Linked DNA regions of Homo sapiens: all the other regions are linked to region 3. Evidence: promoter capture Hi-C in 16 types of primary human blood cells and fetal thymus (Javierre and others, 2016). All regions are on one chromosome and are shown on one strand. The core of a region is centred on a gene start or on the middle of the fragment in contact, and the rest is flanking DNA. Distances in the headings are between cores, read along the strand shown. Region 1 overlaps SYT16 (synaptotagmin 16). Region 2 overlaps SYT16 (synaptotagmin 16). Region 3 holds the start of LINC03033 (long intergenic non-protein coding RNA 3033).

Region 1 (3,155 bases), core at 363-2,862, 520 kb before region 3:
GGATCCTGTCCAACTTCTTTTCTCAACAAAGGTAATTACTATGTTGGATTTGGAGTTTATCATTTCCAGTTTATCATTTCCATAGATGTATTTAAACTTTCAATATGTAAATAGAGGTGTCCAAAATATATTTAATAGAATTTTGCACATTAGAAAATTTAACATTGTAGTGTATGTCCTTCTAAAACTTAATTTACCATTAATTTTTTATATTATCTCTATGTATACATGTATGTGATTCATTTATTTTATCTTCTGTGTGTAATGTTCCAATGTATTAATAAATTATAATTCATTTTTTCATTCTGTTAATGAACATTTAATTGCTTATAATTACCAAAAATTAAAAAGATTTCAGTGAACGTTTTTCTCTATTTTGCATTATATCAATATTCAAAAATTTCTCTAGGATATACCTAGAAGTGAATGACTGTGCTCTTTACAAATTCTAGACACAAAATCTTTGCCAGTTGTATTAATTGCTACTACCTTCTACCTGCCTTTCAGCTTCATTTATAGTCAGTTGCAGTACAAATGTTTTAAATTTTTGTGGAGTCAGGTTTATTGGTGTCTTCTTTTAAGTTGATGCTTTTTAAAAGAAACCCTACCCAAACTCAATAGTCTCCCATATTATCTTCTGAATCTTAAGATCTTGTTTTTCACACTTGATCTTTAATACAGCTGTAATTGAGCTTTGCATGTGGTGTGAGGTAGGGATCTAAATTTTGTATATGGGAAGGATTATTCATTAAATAATCCATTATCTCCCCACTAATTTCTAATACCATGTCTGTCAAATATCAAGTTTCCAAGCTTCAGTGTCTTTCCCTAAGTCTGACAATATTTATTATAATCATTTTATAACATGTCTTGATATCTGCTAGGGATAATCCCTCTACCATCTTTTTAAAAGCTATTTTAGTTATTCTACTCTCTTGCTTGGTTTAATTGGCTCTTGCATATGAATTTTAGAATGAGTTTGCCAAGCTCTGTAAAAAACAAAACAAGATAAAAAAACAAACTAAAACAAAAATACTAAGAAACACTTGGGATTCTACTTGGTATTGTACTGGACATATAATGTGGAAAAAAAACTGTTGTTTTTACAATATGGAATATTCTTGCTAATGAACATAGTATATATAGATATGTGTGTGTTTGTGTGTGTGTGTATATAGTTTCTGTTTGTGTCTTTCATAAAGTTCTGTTGTTTTTCTATAATTTTCATATTCATCTTTTATTATTTTTTGGTATCGTAGATATTTTGTTCCTATTATAAATAGTAACATTTTAAAGCTCCACTTTCTGATTGTTGCTGATGTATTATAACACAACTGATTTTATATAAGAAATATTACTTTATAGATTTTCATTTATCTTTAATGTTGATAATAAGATTTTCTACAAATAATGAATGGCAGCTTCATTTCTTCCTTTCAATCTTTAAATGTTTATTTATTTTTCTTATTATACTTAACTGCCTCAAGTTTCCAGTCTAATATTAAACAAAACTACTGGTGGGAATCCTTATTTTGCTCTTGACTATAAAGGGATTTGAGGATTAAGAATTGGTATAGATTTCCTTAAAATATCCACTGTCAAGTTGAGCAAGTTTCTTTCTGTGCCACATTATTAGTTATTGATATTTACTACGATATCCACCATTCTAAGATCTTTCCTGGGTGAAAGATATAAACCCTTAAAATGACATTCCCCTAGTCTCTTATCAGTAAGGTTCCACTAAAGAAAGCTATGGCAAGAGACAGGAAAGTGGAAGGAGAGAGAGCCCCAGTACTCTAGAACCGGTTGCAGGCATGAGTAGGCATTAGAAGATGACAATGGAAAATTTTTGCCCATAGTGATCATTAGATGAGAATGGAAAAATTTTGCCCATATTGATCAAAGATCCCTATAAAAAAATCGCCTGTCCTGTGTGCAAACAGTTCAGAGCCTATTGACATCTCTCCTGTAATGCCTTATACTCCTGAACTTCCTGAAAACAGTCTTCCTGATCTTTACTACCTTGTCTTCCAATGTTTAAATCCCATAATAACTTCTGATCAAACATACCTAGAATATTTGCTATTTTCCTGAAAATATGTGACTGATACAGTAATTACTAACCTGAACTGGAACGTTGCTATCATAAAAATAAAATAAAATAAGATTGGGGATTGGTCTAGAAGTTGGGTATCAGGTAATGAATAAACTAATATCAGAGGATATAACAGCGAAGATCCATAATCCATATTATGAGATGGTAACACTTCCACCTGCTATAACTTAGAATAAAGAACATGTGCCTAATGAGTTTGTTGCTCTAAAAAAAGAAATTGAAAAATGGAATGTTAGAAGTATGTATTCAGTACTACTGGCTGCATTTAGGGGGAAGAGGGGAAAAGTTAAGCTTGGGAAAGAACTGACCAGTATGCAAGAAAAAAGAGAAAATACAGAAATTCAGCCCTGGCTGGAAGAGTTGATTGATTCCGGATCTCTGAAGAAAGAGATTTTAAAAGGCTTTGAGCCACAAAGGCCCAGTAAACTTTCTCAGGTGAATAATGTGACATTTAATTCAGGTCAAATATCAAATTAACAGTGTGGTCTTTACACCAGAATTGAATTATCTGAGCCATGTGACTGAGTTCTGAAAAATGGAATATGAGAAGTGATAAATGTCACCTTCAATCATGGTTATATTCAACCACTCCCACCCAAGCAATAAATCTCCCATGCTGTCTCTTCCCTTTCCATGCCAACAATGGAGGTCACATTTTGAATATCATCACCTCAGTAAACGGGGAGTGCCTGTATGTCTGAGTTACAGCTTAGAGAACAGTCACATAACTACTTTGGACTGTAATGCAAAGGAGAAATAAGCTTTTGCTGTGTGAAGCCCCTGAGTCAGCAGGGTTTAATCATTACATCACAGCCTAGTCTATATTAATACATCTTCTATTACACATCTGCTAAGATTTTTGTCAGTAATGAAGAGTGCATTTTGCCAAAAGCAACTTTTTGCATCTATTGAGATAATCGTAATTTTTTCAAAAATTTTATTTTTTAATCAAAAGCTTCTATTTGCATCTACTGAGATTATCATAAGGCTTTCTCGTAAGCCAGTTAATATGGTAAATTACACTAGCAGATTTTGCTAA
Region 2 (2,997 bases), core at 152-2,651, 540 kb before region 3:
TAGCACACAGTGCCTGGTACATCAAAGGTAACCAAGAACGCCTGGGAATAGATGAATCCACCCTGCCTGGTTTGAGGTCCCTGTTTTCACCTTAGCTACGTAGCTATCAGTTCATGAACTTACACTAACCTTGAAGGCAGCCACTAGTTGCTGTCTTTACAGTTACTCAAGCAGAAGAAGGGAGCTGGGGGAAAGCCTGTTATACAGAAAATAGTTTTCTTCCCTTAATGAGACATTGTGTTTATAAAGTGACTTTTTTTTTTCCTTTTCAAAACATCTTATAAAGGTCACTACCTGCATTTTAATAGCATTGGGAAATACTCACCTAAAGTCATTTATATATTTTCCTAATTCTTGTCTTTCCACACCCTCTAAAGTGGTTGTGAGACCTCCGAGATGAACGGTTTCATTTTTCCTTAAAATACTCCTCTACCTCAGGTAAAAGCAGCCTCCATAACAACACGCTATATCTTATGGAGAAAAAAATGTATTTGGGAGCAGCTAGGTAATTTGACCAGTATGGATGGTATGTCTAGTGTTATACTTTATCTGAATGGACTAGGAAATCTTTACTATTGTCAGTTTAAATCAACAAATAATTGCCAAGTCCCCTCCTCCTCTGGGACTACCTCAAGATATAACAGATGTTGGAAGACACGAAAGAAAGGTCAAGGTAATCCAAGATCACAGGATTCCTTGATGGCATAACTGGAATTAGAAAACAGGTATGATTTTAATCTCGACTGTGTTATTTATGTCTGCATATATAATTGGATAAATTCTGCAATTCTCCTTGTAAGATTAGAATCTTTCACTAAACAATTTTGGATTTTAAAATACATATTAAAATTCCATACTACCTACCTTAGAATCTATCCAAATTCTAATCTTCTCACCACTCAATCTTGTCCCTCCTCGACATGACCATAGATATAATGCCAATCCTGTCTCCTACTTCTTATCTGTTTACTGAAAAGAATCAGATGTTTTATTATGTAGTGGAATGCACATTAAAATTTATCAGCACTGTGAAATGTCACCCAAGCTTCCCCTTGAGCCATATTTCTGAATCTTTCTGGAGCAACCCCAGAGAAACTGTAAGGAGACTATGAAGCTTACAATACATATAATGTGATTTGACTTATTTGACTTATCAATAAAATGCTACACAGCACAATTTTTTAATTACTACAAAAGACAAAAAAAAAAAAAAGAACCAAAGAACCAGAGTCATAGATGGCTGTCTCAATTATTTTAACATTTCAGCATGGGTAAGCCTGTGTTGAAGCAATGCCACAAGATAGCAATCATTTGCCAAGTTTAAGCTCTCCAGATGACATACTCTAAGATTCATATATGGAAAAATGTTTCTTCTGCATTATTCTTCTTTTGCTCATATATTTGCTTTAATGTTTTCAGTATGCCATATATGTATGTACCTACTAGTGCACATACACATGTAGAAATGGTCAATCTTGCTCAGCCTACTAGCTCAAAACTCTTTGCCCTGTGGCTTTGGAAATGTGAACTCAAATAGTCTTTATTTGCAACAATGCTCCTTCAAGTGTTGAAATGGTCTAAGTCTAAGGTGACTATGGATGTAAAAGTACAAGTAGAACCCTTAATCAGCCCATAGTGTTCTAGTGCTGTCATGGGTTAGAAAGAACTTAAGCAACCAATAAGCTTTTCATAAATAGTCACCAGTACCACAACATTTCAAATAATTTTTTTAAAAATGTAAGTATGCCATAACTTAACTGACTTAACAAGAGTCTTACCAATACTGTTTCATTTTCTCGGGCATATAAATAAACTACAATTCCCAGCCTTCTTAAATATAGGTGGACCCATTGGACTAGTTCTGGCCAACGGAGTTTGGGCAGAAGTGAAGAGCAGCACCTCTAAGCCTGTCCCCTAAAACACATCATTTGACCCTCATGGCTTTTCTTCCTCCATTTGCATGGCAATACATTCCTTCAAAGTCCATAAGGACTCTGAAAGGCCAAATCACAAAAGGAGCCTCAATCCCTGAGATACTGCTAGAAAGAAAACTGAATGGCCAAAAACATCCCAGATGAGGGAGAAATAAACCTTTCTTATGTGAGTCAACTGACATTTTGGGTTATTACAACAGGTAACATTACCTCAACTAATACAGAATTGTAAAATTGTTAAAAATTGTCACTGAAACATCTATAGAATTGTATTTCTCTATGCTTTTCTGTTTGGGGGAAGTCAGCCATGTTTTGAGTGCTATGTAGGTGTCCGAATATAATAACTCAGCTCCCTCTACTTCTAGCTTGTTGCATCTGAGCCTTGTTAACTTTTGAGAACTGGGTATTCATAGAGGGGAAAGTGTTCTGGACAAGAGCTTCTCTAATGAGGAATTACATACACTTTTGTACATGAACACCTACACTTTGCAGTTTGCCTTCTCAGAATCCCCTTTAGATGCAATTTAATTAATTCAGGTGATCCTTACATTTATATAGCTCCTTACCTGATGTTCTTCAAGTCAGCATTTGAACTGGTATATGTTGATTTGTATATGTGTTCACCATAAAAGCCTACAGCACCCTGAAACCAAATAAACTGTATGGATCATACATGTAATGCTTATAGTTCTAAAATATATGTCTGCAGTTGGTATGGTTTTGAAGTTAATGGTTTTTGTATATACTAAAATAAGCAGTATCATTCAGGCCCATAAAATTTGCATGTTGATGCTGCAAAACTGTATCTTTTTTTAACATAAAAAATTTTCACACATGTACATATAAGCCATCTGCTAAAACTTTATTGATAAAACCAGTAGCAGCAGTTTTACAAAATTGGAATGATTTTCAGTTTTCATGAACTATCATGAATTCAGTTGCAGCAGACATTTTATACAAACTGGGGCTAATGCTTCTTCTATGTTTCTGTTTTAAACAAAAAGCAATTAGAATTTATCCTCATGCATTTAAATATCTAATACAGAAATAGTGTTTAGACTGC
Region 3 (2,839 bases), core at 49-2,548:
ACAACTGGAGAAGAAATCCAGGATTACACAAAAAGAAGAGCGTGATGGTATGGTAGACTACTCCAGAACAGTGAATTTCCCCTGCATTAAGGATGAGATCCCTATGAATTGGGATCATTCAGGAAGTCTTCTTGGAGAAGAAAAGTTTGAGCATATGGGGAAAAAAAGTTGGATTGGCAAAGAGCTGAGCTGTCAGTAGCTGGGTCCTTAGTAAGTAGGCTGCATGGAGCTGGGAGTTATGCTAAAGGAGTTGTAATTTGGGATGCCTCTAATTAACCATTTTGGGAAAAATATAATAAATCCCTTTGTAGCATCTATAATAAACTGCCCAATATCTATGTGGTGGGGAAAAAGTTTTATTCTACGTTTCACGTGGATGGTGATAACACTAGGTAATCTCAGCATCTTTCTTATTCTCTTGCTAATCCAGGATTCTAAGTAATAATCACTTTGTTCTACAACCTGAATCTAGCCCTTGTACTGTGCAGTTTTTTTCTACACTTATTTTTCCTGTTGTCTGAATCAATCTCCATGGAAGCATAAGTTTTACTGAGTTTCAACCAGCTGTGTCCACCGAGGTAAAGATGGTAAAAATAAAAGGCACAGGGCATATATACCACAGCAGCAGTTACTTCCCACAAGGAACCAGAGATTGGAAGTGAAGCTAAAACATTTTCAGCTACGATAGCATCTCTTTCAAGGTGAGCCATTTCCCCAGGGAGAGTTTCCAGCTCTTAGCAAAGGCAGAACAATAAAACATCAAGGATGTCTTTCTAAGGCTGCAAACAGAATAGCCAATACCTTGAAGCTGATCTGCTTCAGAGTCCTTTAAAAGCCAGGACAGCAACAAAGTGCCCACATTACATTTTCTACAAGCTTGCTAAGCATCTCTTTTCCTAAACCACAAAACCCGAGACATTTCTACAGAACAGGCAGAAAGGGAAGTCCTGGGAGATCAGGGCCCTGTCTCAGCAGGCATCACTCCAGCCTGTCTTTTCCCGAGTGGTTTTCTGCACTTCTCTTCCATCTTTTCCCCTCTGTCCCACACTGGAAGTCACTAGTCTGTGCCCTCCTTACCTCCCATGGTTTCTGCACCTTCATTTCCAAAGGCAAGTGAAAACAGTGCCAGGCTGCGCACATGGGTTACTCCAGGGACTTCTCTTCCCGTTTCCCCTAAAGCATTTGACAGTTAGATCTTGGAACTGAGTCCAGCAGCACTGAGGTCAGAGAGATGGCTAAAGCTAAAAGCAAACTGGATGCTGTTCAGGAGGTTCTCCTTTGTCATTTTTATCTCCAAATAGAAGACCTCTGTTTTCCCAGAAGATTAAATAGTAGAAAAGAAGTAGCCCAAGGTGGGTGACTCTGCAAACAGGTGGGTGAGGTCTCTAGTTGAGTGAGGGGGTGTCTGTGGGTTGTGGGTTCTTCTTATGAGCAGAGCTTGGAGGAATTTGTTCTATTTGTTGTGGTTTTCCCAGGGGGAAGTCGGGGGTGGCTGGGACTCTAATGATCATTATCAGAAGACTTTGGATTAGGCCTCTGAAACTTTAAGATGTGGATCCTCTCGCAATCATGTTAAAATGCAGATCTCCTTTCAATAGGTCTGGGACAGAGCCTGGCTTTTCTATAAAGCTTCTGGTGATGGGATGTCGCTGGTTCTCAGCCACAATTTGAGTAGCAAGAGGTTAGCTTTTCTACTTACTGCCTTCATATCCCCAGTTGGGCTATGTCGTTTTATCAAAACAATGTGGTAAGAGTGAGCGCCAATTACTAGCCTGTTGAATCATCCATTGTTAGAGCTGTTTCTTTGAGGTACATTTAAGAGGCCCCTCCCTGTGGTTCCCCATTGCACAAGAAGCCCATTTGCCAGGCAATACCTTGGGCAAGCAAGCCACTGTGCAAAATTGCATTGGCTCTTCCTGCTGCCAGCCAGGCGGCTGCTGGTTGACGTTGGAGTTGTACAGTTTATGTGATAGTGATGACAGCGCTGGCTCTGAAGGGTACTGAAGATTTTGAAGGGGTACTTCGCTGCAGCAGCTTCACCTCTCACTTTTGTTTACCCACCCCCGAGGCTTGTGGGAGAGAAGGATCAGGCAGAGCTCTGCACGTGCCATGCCAGGGGTGGAGGAATTATATTTTTATTTTTTGCTTTCTCTGCTACAGGACATACCATGCCTTTTACAGATATTTATAGGACAATTTCCCTCCTGAGAGTGCCCAAGCATGGGGGATGGTGAGGAAGATGACTGAAGGAGAAAGCAGGAAAAGGGGGTGTCTGCATGTATGAGGATTGGAAGGTGGGGAAAACCCTTCGTGTTTGGTTCAGCCTTCAAGAAAGAGGAGGGGTTGACTAGATTACAGATGTTAAACCAGGGGTCTGTGGTTCAAACCAGCAACTCTCTGCCCTTGTAAGCTGTATCTGGCTGGTGTGTTAATTTGTCTAGGGTAAGAGCCCCTAGGTTTCAACAGATTGTCCTAGAGTCAATGATACACAAAAGGTTAATCAGCCTCATTTCCAATCAGGATCATCTGCAAGTCCCTCCCAGAGCAGATATTTGGAGCACTAGGCTTCTAGAAGCAGCAGACATCAAGTTCGGGCCATGGGATTAGGGTGGACAGGGCAGCCACTTGGAATCATTTTCTACCAGAGGCAGAAGAGGCTCAGCTAGCAACAGCCCCATTTTACAGAGCAGAAGCCGAGCTGCAGTCAATTCAGTGATTCCTCCTAAAGTAGGGAGTCAGAAGCCGAGCCTGGACTGGAACCTCGGCCTCCTAGCACACAGAGCACAGGTCTACATTGGGGAAAAGCCCCTTCAATCTGGCAGTTGCCTGGAAAGCGCAA

What was found. The method cuts DNA at HindIII sites, captures the fragments that hold promoters and counts their contacts. A CHiCAGO score of 5 or more calls a contact.
Region 1: a fragment that was not itself captured here is called in contact with the fragment with the promoter of LINC03033 in region 3 in 1 of 17 cell types (naive B cells); the score reaches 5.3 in naive B cells.
Region 2: a contact is called between a fragment that was not itself captured here and the fragment with the promoter of LINC03033 in region 3, in 1 of 17 cell types (naive B cells). The highest score is 5.4, in naive B cells.

Annotation. Positions count from the first base shown.
Region 1 is chr14:62,093,614-62,096,768 of GRCh38, reverse strand. All of the region lies in intron 7 of SYT16 (synaptotagmin 16), which reads right to left. Among named protein-coding and RNA genes, the nearest start is that of LINC00644, 45 kb to the left of the region's middle. The HindIII fragment of the contact is 1,594 bases long and covers 816-2,409 here.
Region 2 is chr14:62,112,329-62,115,325 of GRCh38, reverse strand. SYT16 (synaptotagmin 16) reads right to left here. Exons shown (of 8, transcript NM_001367656.1): 8 at 2,776-2,997. Among named protein-coding and RNA genes, the nearest start is that of LINC00644, 26 kb to the left of the region's middle. The HindIII fragment of the contact is 569 bases long and covers 1,117-1,685 here.
Region 3 is chr14:61,568,999-61,571,837 of GRCh38, reverse strand. It overlaps LINC03033 (long intergenic non-protein coding RNA 3033), which reads right to left and starts at 1,298. Exons shown (of 3, transcript NR_039985.1): 1 at 1,078-1,298. LINC01303 (long intergenic non-protein coding RNA 1303) reads left to right here and starts at 1,185. Exons shown (of 5, transcript NR_110416.1): 1 at 1,185-1,352; 2 at 2,161-2,294. RefSeq lists a silencer at 2,008-2,200 and an enhancer at 2,592-2,839. The HindIII fragment of the contact is 753 bases long and covers 879-1,631 here.